2 separate regions of the Homo sapiens genome follow, and region 2 is linked to region 1. Evidence: promoter capture Hi-C in 16 types of primary human blood cells and fetal thymus (Javierre and others, 2016). All regions are on one chromosome and are shown on one strand. Each heading gives the region's core, a stretch centred on a gene start or on the middle of the fragment in contact. The rest is flanking DNA. Distances are from core to core; before and after follow the strand shown. Region 1 holds the start of EFCAB9 (EF-hand calcium binding domain 9). Region 2 overlaps UBTD2 (ubiquitin domain containing 2).

Region 1 (5,204 bases), core at 162-2,661:
GACTCAGCATGGGCTTTGCAGGCAGAGAGCCCTGCGTTTCCATCTCAGCCTTTTATTTACAACTAGGTCCCCTGCAGCTGCCTTATCTAGGGCAGGGTTATTGCGAAGATTTGGCAATGCACTGTACATAAATCTCTATGTAAAGAGAGAAAGAAGGTGTTCTTTTTTAATTGTTTTTAAAAATTGAATGAACTCCTTAAAATCATGACGGAGGAACCCCTTACTCACGGATGACATTTCTCTCTCTGAGGTCAGAACGAGTGAATGGATAGGATACCTTATTTCTACTCAGTCCTAAAAATAACCTCAAGTGTTTAATTGGACTTCTATTAGTTTGTGAACTCAACAAGCATGGCTGAGATCTGCAGCTTTTATATTTATTTATTTATTTATTTATTTTTATTTATTTATTTATTTATTTATTTATTTTTGGTCATTCACAAGTACCAATAAGTAGAAGGGATCCTGCAGCTCATCAGATTCAAACTTCCCACATGACAGATAAATCTTGCTGAGGGGTCTCCAGAGTTAATGCCTGAGTGGGGCTCAGCTCCCAAGAATAATAATTACAATAATAACAAACACTTATTAAGTCCTTACGATGTGTCAGACACTGTGCTAAGCATTTGCCATACTCTCATTATCTTTTTTTTTTCCAACTATGAGATGGACTCCATTATGAGAAGCCTCACCTCTAGATGAGGAAAATGAGACTTAGAGAGGGCGATGACGTGTTATCCACATCACCAAGGAATAATGGGTGTGGAGCCAGGATTCCACCAGAGTCTGCAATTTTCTCCTCCCGGCTGAACTGTCCCCCGTGTCAATTCTGAGTTGGCAACTTCTCTCTGTGCTTCAACTAGAAGATAAAATATTTACTAACAGGCCGGGTGTGGTAGCTCACACTTGTAATCCCAGTACTTAGGGAGGCGGAGGCGGGTGGATCACCTGATGTCAGGAGTTTGAGACCAGCCTGGCCAACATGGTCTGGTCATCTCTACCGAAAATACAAAAAATTAGCCAGGCGTGGTGGCAGACACCTGTAATCCCAGCTACTCAGGAGGCTGAGGCAGGAGAATTGCTTGAACCCTGGAGGCGGAGATTGCAGTGAGCTGAGATCGCGCCATCGTACTCCAGCCTGGGCAATAGAGCGAGATTCCGTCTCAAAAAAAAAAAAATGTACTAACAAAATAGTTTCTGGCTCTGCAAGTTTTCTTACACATTAGCTAAAACCCAGGTAAGGACCCAGAGGAGACATGTCTGAAAGTACTGACCATTCAAGGTGTTCTTGCCGTGCACGTCCAGAATATGAAAATATTCTGCCAAAGCCTTCACGTTTCTCACGGATAATAAGCAGTATATTTTGTCCAGATAGAGGTACCACAGAAACGATCCTTGCTTCAGTCTCATCTTAGTACTGTGTCAACTGAAGGCTCTGGCAACCAGAAATAGAATACAGAACCCTGCCTCAGAAGTAGAATGTTGGATATAGTGTCTGAGATCTGGCAGCAGTGAAGGTAAACACGTCAGAGGAAACAGTCAAAAATTAAAATTGCTGCTTCTTAATTTTTCCAGCTATGCTATAGATAGATATCTGCTGTCCGAAACCTCTTGGTAACGTGATTATCCTTATGTCACTAAAATACAATCAGTTCTAAAGGAGATCCACAGGCTGTTCAGAAATGAATGAGAGAATGTGCTACATAGGAAAACTGCTACACAGCCCAAGTGGTTTTCAGAGCATTTATAGCCTAAATCATTTATTAGAAAGAAGAAAAATTGAAAAACACATGGAAAAGTACTAAAAGAGCCTAGAATAACTACAGTATAATAATGCCAAAGAGAGGAAGTTTTTCTTTTTTCTTTTCTTTTTTTTAATTGAGACAAGAGTCTTGCCTTGTCACCCAGGCTGGAGTGCAGTGGCGCGAGCTCTGCTCACTGCAAGCTCCGCCTCCCGGGTTCACGCCATTCTCCTGCCTCAGCCTCCTGAGTATCTGGGACTACAGGCGACAGGCGCCCACCAACACGCCCGGCTAATTTTGTGTATTTTTAGTAAAGACGGGGTTTCACCACGTTAGCCAGGATGGTCTTCATCTCCTGACCTTGTGATCCGCCCGTCTTGGCCTCCCAAAGTGCTGGGATTACAGGTCTGAACCATTGAGCCCTGCCTCTTTTTTTTCTTTTTTTGAGACAGAGTTTCACTCTTATCATCCAGGCTGGACTATAATGGCACAGTCTTGACTCACGGCAACCTCTGTCTTCTGGATTCAAGCGAATCTCCTGCCTCAGCCTCCCGAGTATCTGGAATTACAGGCATGCACCCCCACGCCCAGCTAAATTTTTGTTTTTATTTTTTATTTTTTATTTTATTTTATTTTTATTATTATTATTTTTTGAGATGGAGTCTCGCTCTGTCTCCCAGGCTGGAGTGCAGTGGCGCGATCTCGGCTCACTGCAAGCTCCACCTCCCAGGTTCACACCATTCTCCTGCCTCAGCCTCCCCAGCAGCTGGGACTACAGGCACACTCCGCCACTCCCGGCTAATTTTTGTATTTTTAGTAGACACGGGTTTCACCGTGTTAGCCAAGATGGTCTTCATCTCCTGACCTTGTGATCCGCCTGCCTCGGCCTCCCAAAGTGCTGAGATTACAGGCGTGAGCCACTGCACCCAGCCCAATTTTTGTATTTTTAGTAGAGATGAGGTTTAACCATGTTGGCCAGGGTGGTCTTGATGCCTGCCCTCAAGTGATCCACCCGCCTTGGCCTCACAAAGTGCTGGGAGTACGGGTATGAGCCACTGTGCCCTGACATTAATTTTTTTTTTCTTTTTTCTTTTTTTTTTTTTTGAGACAGGATCTCACTCTGTCTCCTAGGCTGGAGTGCAGTGGTATGGTCATACCTCACTGCAGCCTTGAATCCCAGGCTCAAGCTATCCTCCCACCTCCACCTCCTCATAGCTGGGACTATGCCCATGTGCTACCACGTTGTATTTTTTGTAGAGATAGGATCTTGCTACATTGCCAAGGCTGGTCTTGAACTCCTGGCCTCAAGCTATCCTCCCACCACAGCCTTCCAAAGTGTTGGGATTACAGGTGTGAGCCATGGTGCCCAGCCCCTCCTCTGTCTTAATTTTCTACTCCCTACTCACTCCCAAATAAACCACTTACACTCAAATCCTTGCCTCAGGGTCAGTCTCTAAGGGAATCCAACCTAAGAATACTATAAAATGCTTTTTCTGTGACTATTAAGACTATGTGATTTTTCTCCTTTACTCTGCCAATGCAGTGCTATTACAGTAGATTTTCTGATGTAGAACCATTCTTTTATTCCTGGATAAACCTTTTGTGGTTACGATATTTTTATTCACCTCTGGTTTGATCTTGCTAGCATTTGTATTTTCCCTGTCTTTTTAAGAACTGAAATTAGGCCGGGCGTGATGGCTCACACATGTAATCCCAGTACTTTGGGAGGCTGAGGCGGGCGGATCACGAGGTCAAGAGATTGAGACCATCCTGGCCAACATGGTGAAACCTCATCTCCACTAAAAATACAAAAATTAGCCGGGCGTGGTGGCACGTTCCTGTAGTCCCAGCTACTTGGGAGGCTGAAGCGGGAGAATCGCTTGAATCTGGGAGGTGGAGGTTGCAGTGAGGTGAGATCACACCATTGCACTCCAGCCTGGCGACACAGCAAGACTCTCTCTGTCAAAAAAAAAAAAAAAAAAAAATGAAATGAAATTAGTCTACAATTTTCTTTCTCTCTCTCTCTTTCCTCTCCTTCCCTTCCTTTTTAAGACAGGGTCTCACTGGAGACCAGGCTGGTGCAGCGGTGAGATCACTGTTCACTGCAGCCTCGGCCTCCTGGGCTCAAGGAATCCTCCTGCCTCAACCTCCTGAGTAGCTGGGACCACTGGTGTGCACCACCACGCCTGGCTAATTTTTTGACTTTTTGTAGAAACAGGGTCTCACTTTATAGCTCTGGCTGGTATGGAACTCCTGGGCTCAAGTGATCCTCCCACCTCAGCCTCCCAAAGTGCTGGAATTACAGGTGTAAGCCACTGTGCCTGGCTTACAATTTTCTTTTACTGTCCTTATCTAGTAATAGTAAAACTCATCTTATAAAATAAATTGGCAGATTTCCTTCATTTTCTATCTTTTAAAATAATTTATATAAAGAAAGAAATTATTTGTAAAACCACACAGACTGATGTCTTTCACCAAGAACAAGCTTTTGATTCTTGATTTTTGTGGTTGTTGTTTTTTGGGTTTTTGTTTGTTTGTTTTTGTTTAGAGACAGAGTCTCACTGTGTTGCCCAGGCTCGAGTGCAGTGGTGTGATCTCGGCTCACTGCAACCTCCGTCTCCTAGGTTGAAGGGATTCTTGTGCCTGAGTCTCATGAGTAGTTGGGACCACAGGCACGCACCACCACACCCGACTAATTTTTGTATTTTTAGTAGAGACAGAGTTTCACCATGTTGCCCAGGCTGGTCTCGAACTCCTGACCTCAGGTGATTCACCCGCCTCAGCCTCCCAACGTGCTGGGATTACAGGCATGAGCCACTGTGCCCGGCCTGATTCTTGATTTGATTTCTTTATTGGTTACTAGTTTATTTAGGTTTTTATTTCTTATTGAAATTATCTTTTACCTATCATTTATATTTTCTTCTCAATAATTACCCATTTTATGTAAATTAAAACATTTATTCACATAAATTTGTCTAAAATATCACTTTATGATTATCAAAATTTCTACAGTATCTAATCTGATGTTCTCTTTTCATTTTTTATTTCTTCCAGTGAATATTTCTTTCTTGCACCAATTTTTTTTTTTTCTTTTCTTTTTTTTTTTGAGACGGAGTCTTGCTCTGTTGCTCAGGCTAGATGGAGTGCAATGGTACGATCTCGGCTCACTGCAACCTCCATCTTCTGGGTTCAAGTGATTCTTCTGCCTCAGCCTCCCAAGTAGCTTGGGTTACAGGCGTGCACCACCCCGCCCGGCTAAGTTTTGTATTTTTCGTAGAGCTGGGGTTTTGCCATGTTGGCCAGGCTGGTCTTGAACTCCTAACCTCAGGTGATCCACCCAGCTTGGCCTCCCAAAATGCTGGGATTACAGGTGTGAGCCACCGTGCCCGACCCTTTTTTTCTTTTTCTTTGACTAGTCTTGTCTATTAGTTATTTCAAAGAAGTAGCTTTGATTCTATTGAA
Region 2 (4,885 bases), core at 2,244-4,743, 73 kb before region 1:
AGAGGATTAGATGAAGAAAAGGCAGAGAAGGGCATCATTCTGTATGTAGAGGAAATTACTTGTACAGAGATACGAAAAAACATAGCATTTAGGGGGATTGCTAAGAAGCTTGTAGAGGAGATAGGTGAAATGTGAAGTTATTAAGATATGTTATTAGATTTGGGAAGACAGGATTGCCATAAGTAGACCAAGTTGTGAGACTATATTATAGGTGATATTAGTGAAGTGGTTTAAAATTTTTGTTTTTTGTGCTTCTAACAGACTAATTCCCATGTAATGCTGCATTTTGCAAGGTTATTTTATATAAAATTCTAATGTAGTAGGTTATTATAGTCTAACAGAGTTTTATTCTGTTACAATTTTAATGCTACAGGTTGGACATCCCTAATCCAAAATTAGAGGATTTCAGGTTTTCAGATTAGGGATACTCAGTATGTGTGCTGCAAGTATTCAAATCTGAAAAACTCTAAAATTCTAGGCTGGGTGCTGTGGCTCACACCTGTAATCCCAGCACTTTGGGAGGCTGAGGTAGGCAGATCACGAGGTCAGGAGATTGAGACCATCCCAGCCAACATTGAAACCCCGTCTTTTACTAAAATACAAAAAAATTAGCCTGGCGTGGTGGTGGGCGCCTGTAGTCCCAGCTACTCGGGAGGCTGAGGCGGGGGAATTGCTTGAACCCGGGAGGCAGAGGTTGAAGAGCCGAGATCGCACCATTGCACTCCGGCCTGGGCAACAAGAGCGAAACTCCACCTCAAAAAAAAAAAAAAAAAAAAAAAATTCTAAAATTCTAAATACTTCTAGTTTCAGAACTTTTGAATAAGAGCTACTCAGTCTGTATTATCACAGATTAAGCATAAGAAATGTATTTAAATTAAAAATTAGGCAGGCCAGGTGGTAGCTGTGCCTGTAGTCCCAGCTACTGGTGAGACTGAGATGGGAGGATCTGTTTGAGCCCATGAGTTCAAGGCTGCAGTGAGCCGTGATTGTGCCACTGCACTCCAGCCTTGGTGACAGAGCAAGACTCTGACTCTTGTTTTTTTGTTTTTAAATTGAGACAGAGTCTTGCTCTGTCGCCCAGGCTGGAGTGCAATGGCGTGATCTCGGCTCACTGCAACCTCTGCCTCCTGGGTTCAAGCAATTCTCCTGCCTCAGCCTCCCGAGTAGCTGGGATTACAGGCATGCGCAACCATGCCCAGCTAATTTTTTGTATTTTTAGTAGAGACGGAGTTTCACCATGTTGGCCAGGCCGGTCTCGAACTCCTGACCTCATGAACTGCCTGCCTCGGCCTCCCAAAGTGCTGGGATTACAGGCATGAGCCACCGTGCCTGGCCTACCCTGACTCTTAAAGAAAAAAAAAATGTGTTTAACTTTTTTTTTTTTTTTTTTTACATGCACATGTATATGTTTGTTACAGAATCAGTCTGTGTCTCTTAGTTCCCAATTTTCTGGCATATGGAAAGAGTTTGGTCTAAGATTCTTCAGACCGCTTGGGTTTTAATCTTGTTACGAGAAGAGGCCTCCATTAGCTGTGTGCGACTCAATTTCTTTCATTGTTGAAAGGAGTGGATGGATAGACCATCTTTACCAAGGTTACATCTAATTCTTTTTTTCAAACTTAATTTTTTTTTTTTTTTTTGAGACAGGGCCTCACTCTGTTGCCCAGACCGGAGTGCAGTGGTGCAGTCTCGGCTCACTGCAACCTCCGCCTCCCAGGCTCAAGTGATTCTCCTGCCTCGGCCTCCCAAGGAGCTAGTATTACAGGCGCACACCACTACTGCCTGGCTAATTTTTGTGTTTTTAGTAGAGATGGGGTTTCACCGTGTCAGCCAGACTGGTCTCCAACTCCTAACCTTAAATGATCCACCTGCCTTGGCCTCCCGAAGTGCTAGGATTACAGGCATGAGCCACCCCGCCCCGCCCAAACTTTTTAAATGACAATTTTCAAACATACTGAAAAGTTGGAAGACTCTAGTACAGAAACCCTTGAACGCCTGTCACCTATATTAAACAAATGATATTTTGTCATATTTATATATCTTTTTTGATATATATTCCTTTGTATCTCTTTTTTTTGCACTTAACTGTTTGAAAGTGAATATAGACATCATGACACTTCAATGTGAATCTCTTAAAAGTAAAGCTGTTCTCCTACGTAACCACAGTACCATTATCACTGCTAAGAAAGATTATTATATCTTCATGTCCTCTGAGATCTAGTCCATAGTCCAAATCCCTTAATTGTCCTCAAAATGTCTTTTATAACTGGGTTTTTTTCCCCAAAATCAGATCTTATCAGCATTTAGACATTGCATTTGTCACTTCAATCTTTTAAAATCCAGAACTCCTCCTCCTCTTCTTCCCTATGACATTCTTTTTTTAAGATGGAGTCTCACTTTGTTGCCCAGGCTGGAGTGCAGTGGCATGATCTCTGCTCACTGCAACCGTTGCCTCCTGGGTTCAAGCAATTCTTCTGCCTCAGCCTCCTGAGTAGTTGGGGAATACAGGTGTGCGCCACCATGCCTGGCTAATTTGTCTATTTTTTGGTGGAGACGGGGTTTTACCATGTTGGCCAGGCTGGTCTTGAACTCCTGACCTCAAGTGATCTGCCACGCCCGGCCGACATTGACTTTTTGAAGAGTCTTGTAGAATGTACCACAATCTGGATTTGTCTGAATGTGGCCTTGTATCATTTAATGTGTGCTGTAGCCTCTGTTTTCCCTGGAAATCAGGTAGATTTAATTCTACAGAGGACGGTTGAACTATTTTCCAGGCTACAGTAGATCCACACTCTGCCCACTTCTCTTTTTCTACGTTCCAACTAGGATAATCTTTCATTATTGACCAACTCTGAGCGTTTTTCTCATTTTTCTACCCAGAAATAATCCTGCCGTTTTCTGAACTTCCTTAGTACTATTCTTATAGTACTTATCCTCTCCACTCTACTTAAAAAAAAAAACTTCTATCATGGCTATTTTTATACATTACTTATCTTCGCACAATGTAAGCTGCATTGGACCTGGGGCAGAGACTGGTTCTCTCATAATGCTTTAGGATCAATTATCATTTGTGTGGAACACATCTTTGACTTTATAATGGCATTGGAGAGAAAATAATATGCTCTTAATAGAAGCCTTTCTTAGTTCTAGAACAGAAGCTTTGTTAAATAGGACCATATAGTATAATGAAAAGATCTGGGAGTCAGAAGAACCCTTGAGTGTTCCACTCATCTTCCGTTTCTTTATGACCTTAAATAAGTCAGTTGACTTCCCAGCTTTCGTTTTTAAGTATGTTAGATGAAATCAGTAGATTCAGACATTAACATGGAATCTTCTTTTTTTTTAAATCTGACATTGAACACTAACATAGCCTCAGCATTTGATTTCTTTATATTTTATTTTGATGGTGTGGAATCAGTAAAGTCCTGGTACACAAATTTTTAAACATGATTTAGAGTCTCATAAAGTTCTGTAGGAGATTTTAAGTTTGAATCACCAACATCATCAGCTGTACTCAGAAGTTAAACACGTCATGTCAAGCAGTGTTATGACTTAAGTTATATTTTCTCCGAGTATTGTTTATTTACTTCGTGTTGATGAGAGCGTATACTGAGCAGATGCATCTGAGCTTGCTGTGACATTTAGTGGAACCTAGACATCCATGTACTGTGTTAATGTGCTCACTTGTACAGTTTTACGGGACTGGATGTATACATGCCTGTATTAACAAAAGACACCATGCAGACCTGTGGTTTTCCCAGTCAGTAACACATTTGCAGGAAGTTTCCTAAATTTCATATATGCGTAAAGATGGCAAGAAAAGCTTCATTCCAATGCCTTTACAATCATTTTGACCTGGTGGCGTAAGCTAACATGTCTCATGATGGTCTTCATATTAGAAACTTAACATTTGTGGAACTTTTTATTATAGTTCTTAAAAATAGCAAAAATAGGTTTTACAGAGTAATCTCAGTTGTGTTTATGGATCTCTGAAGCAGGTGTTTCTTTTGTTCTCTTGGGTTCTTTGGAACCAGTTTTTAAAATCATACGGTAAGATTCTAGGAAAAAACTTTTTTTTTTTTTTTTTTTTTAAAGAGAGGCTCTCTGTTACCTAGTGGAGTGCAGTGGTGTGATCAGAGTTCACTGCAGTCTCAAACTCCTGGGCGGTCAAGCAATCCCCTGCCTCAGGCAGCCTCTGGGGTAGCTAGGATTATAGGCGCACACCACTGCACCTGGCTGATCTCTAAATTTTTTTTGTATAGATGGTGTCTTGTTTTGTTGCCCAGGCTGATCTTGAAATCCTGGCTTCAAGTGATCTGCCCTGCCTGGGCCTCCCAAAGTGTTGGGATCACAGGCATGAGCTACTGCAGCCGGCCAACTTTTGGCTGCTTAATGTACTGTAAGTGAAGTTGTTTGTTTATGATGTGAACCTTACCTCTTAGCCCATTTGAAGCTGGAAATGCAACTTAGCACTATTAGGCCTACTCTCCCTATCTCTCACCTGACATTACTTTTCTCATTCCTCTCTTGGGCATAAAATATTACATCTCTTCACCTCCAATTGGAACAGACTTATGTTTAACCGTAGGAAATTCAGACAGGAAGTACTTCATGGAAAAGGGGCCGGTGGATGAGATGTGTTTGACAGTTTGGCTGTGGCTTGTGAAGTAGGAACCAGAATAGATGGCATGCCAAGAAGGACCTGGTAGGTAAAGTCTGGTGCCTGCTCTGCTGTGTTTTTAAAAATCTGACTGTTGCTTATGAAGAATGGATTAGATTCAGATGAAACCAGTGGGATACCGATGCAGTCTTTACATCCAGTGACTCACACACAGCTTCTTCCCATCTTAGGGCTTTCGTGCTGTTTCCTTTGCTTGGAATCTAA

What was found. Contacts are between HindIII fragments. The CHiCAGO score rates a contact against its expected background, and 5 or more counts as called.
Region 2: a contact is called between a fragment that was not itself captured here and the fragment with the promoter of EFCAB9 in region 1, in 1 of 17 cell types (activated CD4 T cells). The highest score is 5.0, in activated CD4 T cells.

Annotation. Positions count from the first base shown.
Region 1 is chr5:172,190,379-172,195,582 of GRCh38, reverse strand. EFCAB9 (EF-hand calcium binding domain 9) reads right to left here and starts at 1,411. Exons shown (of 4, transcript NM_001171183.2): 1 at 1,275-1,411. The coding sequence starts at 1,410. The HindIII fragment of the contact is 7,932 bases long and covers 1-4,229 here.
Region 2 is chr5:172,266,246-172,271,130 of GRCh38, reverse strand. All of the region lies in intron 1 of UBTD2 (ubiquitin domain containing 2), which reads left to right. Among named protein-coding and RNA genes, the nearest start is that of UBTD2, 15 kb to the left of the region's middle. The HindIII fragment of the contact is 665 bases long and covers 3,161-3,825 here.